Linked DNA regions of Homo sapiens: region 1 is linked to region 2. The links are contacts of gene promoters, found by promoter capture Hi-C in blood cells and fetal thymus (Javierre and others, 2016). All regions are on one chromosome and are shown on one strand. Each heading gives the region's core, a stretch centred on a gene start or on the middle of the fragment in contact. The rest is flanking DNA. Distances are from core to core; before and after follow the strand shown. Region 1 holds the start of ASPRV1 (aspartic peptidase retroviral like 1). Region 2 overlaps C2orf42 (chromosome 2 open reading frame 42).

Region 1 (2,700 bases), core at 119-2,618, 200 kb before region 2:
CAGCCCAACTAAGACAGGCTTTGAGGACCTGAGAGTGACCAAGCCATACCTCAGGGAATCTGAAGGGGTCCCACAGTTCTTTCAAAGACAAGCATTTCTAGCTTCCTTGGGAGCTCTTCCAGCCTTTGAGTCTTTGTCATCAACAGCAGCTTGATGACCATGGGGACCCTGTCCCTCTAAGCCAGCCTGCTCTCCCTCACCTGTGCCTGTTCAGTGGAAGCCTCCCCTACCAGGGGCAGATTAAGGCCCCTGCAGAGGGAGGCAAAGGGGAGAGAAGAGCAAGAGTTGATAAGCAGACTGGCCAAGCCCAGTGACCCCCATGAGGATATGCAACCCCCCCCACAGCGGTGGGTCTTCCCACCAATATTTAGGAGGTTAAAGAAAAGGTGGCTTCTCAGTGGGATAGCTCCTGCCGCCCTTCTTCTGAGGAGGGGTCCTCCTCTATGAGCTCCAGGTCAAACTCATCTTCCAGGGACCCTCCCACAGGCAGAAGGCGAAACTTCTTCCCTTTCAGGGTGCATGTGCGGTGCTCAAAGTCCAGGATAGCATTGTGGTCCTGGAGCACATCAGTGCCAATGATGGCTTCCTCGGCACTCGCATTGGCCACTAGGAACTGTGCCTTCAGCTTCAGCTTGCCTAGGGACACCGCTGTATCCCAGACACCCAGGATCTTCATTTCAGCACCATTGGCCACCTTTACCACATTCTCAAAGGGCTGCAGGGTGTCCAGATCGCCATCAGTGACCTCCTCCCACAAGTTTGGGTGGACCACAGAGACCTGGGCCCCAGAGTCCACCAGGAACCTCACGGGCACTTTGCCAATCTTCCCCTTGAGATAGTAGCCCTTACCCATGCTGTTGGCAAAGACGATCTCTTTGGGCAGGTGGCTGGGGGCAGCCCCAGGGACCCCAAAGGCCTTCAGGAGGGCCTCTTTCACAGTCCCATAGTCTCCCTGGTCCTGGGGACTGAGCCTATTGTAGACACCCAGGGCCTCTCCTCTGAGGGACTCTTTCAGGAACCTTAGCTTGGTGATATGGTCCCAATGGTTGAGGTCATTGATGACTTCAAAGCTGTGCAGCCAGAGGTTTGGGACGACATTGGCCCCATCAAAAGGTTCCGGGACGAAGGCATGCTGCCGGCGGCCTTCCTCACTCCTGGCTCCGCTCCCGGCCATCCTGCTGCTCTCCTCTGGAACCTCAGCAGCAACCCACGCCAAGAAGAGAAACCCACAGAGCAGTGTCGGCGCAATCACGCTGGAAAACGGGGCCTCTCGAAGCAGAGTGGGGATGACTTGCCCGGCCTTGGGCAAGCAGGAGGGAGCAGGCGCGGTCGGCTGGCTGACTGCTGGGGCAGAGGCAGGCAGTGCTGTGGCCTGTTCACTCTGCAGAGCCTTTTTGATGCCTAGGCTGGCCCCTGGGCTCCCCATTCTCCTTTGTTCTGGAAGCTCCGCCCCTCCTCACCCCGCCCTCCTGCCAGCATCCGGCCGGACTAGCAGGATGGGTGCCTCACCCTCTGCATCCATCCTTGGACCAACACCAGCCAGCCCACATCCCAAGAAAGGCCAGCCTCTGTTGAAGGGGGACTACCCTGTACCCTCCCTGGCCTGTGTTCCAGAATAACAGATGAGGACACGGAGGATGTGATGACATTCAGGTATTTGTCATCAGCCAGTGAAGGAAGGGGAGGCAGGGACCAGACGCCCATCAGCTCAGAGACCGGGGAAGCCGCCATTGGCCTCCCCAACAAGTGACTACTTTGAGTGGTCAAAGGAAAACAGTTTACATGTACTGAGCTCCTACCACATGCCAGGCACTGGGAAGTGTCTCACACACATTCTAAAGCAGGTATGGGATCCTATGGGATTTCCTGGAGAGGGAGGCAGAGGAGGGTTCCAGCATAAAGAATGCACAGAAATGGTCTTTTTTAAGTGAGTGAGGACACACACACACACACACACACACACACACACGTGCACAATCATCTTACATGGACTCAACTGCTGCAGTAATTTTCCTTCATTGATCACCCCTGATTCAGAGGCAGAGGGGTGGCCAAGCAACTCTGGGTAGGCCCCATACTGCACTCCATGAGCATTGTCTCCACCCTATCCACCCCTCTCCATTTCCAGGAACTGTTCCAGGGCCCCTTCCCCAGGCACTGCAGCACTTCCTCTCCCACTCCCCAAGCTGGTCATTTGTGGAAAGATCACGGGAAATTTCACTCCCTTTTCATTCTGAGAGGGAAAATGTCCACTATGTTGGTGATGCCAGTGGTGAGGACCTGGAGGGCTCTGGCTCTGTGCCCCTCGCTGCAGGGGTAAAGGGTAGCACGGGAGGACATCCAGTCGTCTACAGAGGACATCTGTGAGTCCAAGGGCTGGAGGCCTGACTTGGGGCTGTGCAGGGGCTGTTGAAGGGATCCACTTTTATGTCCCCATTCAAAGGTCACTCCATGGAGCCTTCTGCCTGTCCCTAGAAAGGGCACCCACTCCTCGTTGAGCGTGTTTTACGGTGTGATCTGGTGGTTTGTTCACAAGTCTGCCTCTTGCTATGAACCAGAGTCTGGGGCTCACAAACCTGGCATTTGTGATTGTCTCCAGCCCCCAGAACAACTTCCTCTGGGACCCAGGGGCTCTTTGCTGGGCTCCAGGCCTAGCTGTGTGCTGTCACCAAACAGGAGTGATTAAGGATGGGAGAGGAG
Region 2 (2,700 bases), core at 22-2,521:
GAGGCTGAGGTAGGCGGATCACCTGAGGTCGGGAGTTTGAGACCAGCCTGACCAACATGGAGAAACCTCATCTCTACTAAAAATACAAAATTAGCCAGGCGTGGTGGCAGACGCCTGTAATCCCAGCTACTCAGAAGGCTGAGGCAGGAGAATCGCTTGAACCTGGGAGGTGGAGGTTGAGGTGAGCCAAGATCACATGATTGCACTCCAGACTGGGCCACAAGAGTGAAAGTCCGTGTCAAAAAAAAAAAAAAAAAAAGAGTCAAGGTCTCACTTGGTTGCCCCTGCTGGAGTACAGTGGCACAATCATGGCTCACTGTAGCCTCCAACTCCCAGGCTCAAGTGATCCTCTTGCTTCAGCTTTCTTAGTGGTTGGGACTATAGGCACACACCACCAGGCCTCACTTTTTCTTTTTTTCTTTTTTTTTGGAGATGGAGTCTAGCTCTGTCACCCAGGCTAGAATGCAGTGGCACGATCTCAGTTCACTGCAACCTCCGCCTCCCAGGTTCAAGTGATTCTCCTGCCTCAGCCTCCCGAGTAGCTGGGATTACAGGAGCAAGCCACCACGCCCGGCTAATTTTTGTATTCTAGTAGAGACGGGTTTTCACCATGTTGGCGAAGCTGGTCTCAAACCCCTGACCTCAGGTGATCTGCCCACCTTGGCCTCCCAAAGTGCTGGGATTACAGGCATGAGCCACCTCGCCAGCCTCTTTTGCTTTCTTTCTTTCTTTCTTTTTATTTTTTTAAGAGTAGGGGCCTTTGCTGGCCTGGCGCACTGGCTCACGCCTGTAATCCCAGCACTTTGGGAAGCCAAGGAGGGTGGATCACCTGAGGTCAGGAGCTTGGGACCAGCCTGGTCAACATGGTGAAAGCCTGTCTCTACTAAAAATACAAATTAGCTGGGCAGGATGGTGCGCTTGTAATCCCAGCTACTCGGGAGGCTGAGGTGGGAGAATTGCTTGAACCTGGGAGGCAGAGGCTGCAGTGAGCCAAGATTGTGCCCTGCATTCCAGCCTAGACAACAGAGTGAGACTCTGTCTCAAACAAAAAAAAAATAGTAGGGGCCTCGCTGTGTTGCCTAGGCTGGTCTTGAACTCCTGGCCTCAAGCAATCCTTCATCTCAGCCTCCTAAATCGCTGGTATTATAGCCACCATGCCTGGCTCACATGTAAATTCTGTAGCTATCAAACAACTTATTTTTTTTTCCTGAACAGAAGAATGCCTTGCAATTAAGCTACTCTTAATGTATCAAATCACATTATGCTGAATTTTCTACTTTTTTGGAGACGAAGTCTCGATCTTGTCCCCCAGGCTGGAGTGCAATGGCGCAACCTCAGCTCACTGCAACCTCCGCCTCCCGGGTTCAAGCGATTCTCCTGCCTCAGCCTCCCAAGTAGCTGGGATTACAGGTGCCTGCCACCATGCCTGGATAATTTTTGTATTTTTAGTTGTGACGGGGTTTCACCATGTTGGCCAGGCTGGTCTCAAACTCCTGACCTCAGGTGATCCACCTGCCTTAGCCTCCCAAAGTGCTGAGATTACAGGTGTGAGCCACCGTGCGCGGCCTGAATTTTCTACATAATTCTATTACTGTAGGAAAAAAAACTCCATCTCAGATTTTCAGGATCTACTTGAAAAACATACATACATATATATTTTTTGAGACAGCGTCTTGCTCTGTCGCCCAGGCTGGAGTGCAGTGGTGCGATCTCGGCTCACTGCAAGCTCCGCCTCCCGGGTTCACACCATTCTCCTGACTCAGCCTCCCGAGTAGCTGGGACTACAGGAGCCTGCCACCATGCCCGGCTAATTTTTTTGTATTTTTAGTAGAGACGGGGTTTCACTGTGTTAGCCAGGATGGTCTCGATCTCCTGACCTCGTGATCCACCCGCCTCGGCCTCCCAAAGTGCTGTGATTACAGGCGTGAGCCACCGCACCCAGCCCGAAAAACATTTTAAAATGTGTAAGACAGGCACAGGGGCTCACGCCTGTAATCCATGCACTTTGGGAAGCCAAGGTGGGCGGATCACTTGAGATCAGGAGCTTGAGACCAGCCTGGCCAACATGGCAAAACCCTGTCTCTACTAAAAATACAAAAATTAGCCAGGCATGATGGTGCGTGCCTATAGTCCCAGCTACTCAGGAGGTTGAGGCATGAGAACTGCTTGAACCTGGGAGGTGGAGGTTACAGTGAGCCGAGATCGTGCCACTGCACTGCAGCCTGGGCAACAGAGCAAGAGACTCTGTCTCCAAAAAATAAAAATAAAAACATAAAATGTCTAGTGTGGCTGGAAGAGGCAGATTACACCTGTAATCACAGTACTTTGGGAGGCCAAGATGGGAGGACTGCTTGAACCCAGGAATTTGAGACCAGCCTGGGCAACATAGCAAGACCCTATCTTAAATTTTTTTTTTTTTTTAATTAATAGGGTGGGCCTGGTGGCTCATGCCTGTAATCCCAGCACTTTGGGAGACTGCGGCAGACAGATTGCTCGAGTCCAGGAATTTGAGACCAGCCTGGGCAACATGGGGAAACCCCATCTCTACAAAAATTAGCTGGGCATGGTGGCATATGCCTGTAGTCCAAGCTACTCAGGAGGCTGAGGTGGGAGGATCACTTGATCCCAAGAGGTGGAGGTAGAGTGAGCCGTGACTGCACCACTGTACTCCAGACTAGGCAACAGAGTAAGACTCTGTCC

Evidence for each region. Contacts are between HindIII fragments. The CHiCAGO score rates a contact against its expected background, and 5 or more counts as called.
Region 1: a contact is called between the fragment with the promoter of ASPRV1 here and a fragment that was not itself captured in region 2, in 6 of 17 cell types (total CD8 T cells, naive CD8 T cells, total CD4 T cells and 3 more). The highest score is 9.7, in total CD8 T cells.

What each region holds. Positions count from the first base shown.
Region 1 is chr2:69,960,263-69,962,962 of GRCh38, forward strand. It overlaps ASPRV1 (aspartic peptidase retroviral like 1), which reads right to left and starts at 1,369. Exons shown (of 1, transcript NM_152792.4): 1 at 1-1,369. The coding sequence starts at 1,174. The coding sequence ends at 395. PCBP1-AS1 (PCBP1 antisense RNA 1) reads right to left here. Exons shown (of 11, transcript NR_033872.1): 11 at 2,001-2,700. RefSeq lists a silencer at 1,255-1,549. The HindIII fragment of the contact is 12,271 bases long and covers 1-2,700 here.
Region 2 is chr2:70,161,601-70,164,300 of GRCh38, forward strand. All of the region lies in intron 8 of C2orf42 (chromosome 2 open reading frame 42), which reads right to left. Among named protein-coding and RNA genes, the nearest start is that of C2orf42, 28 kb to the right of the region's middle. The HindIII fragment of the contact is 4,638 bases long and covers 1-2,700 here.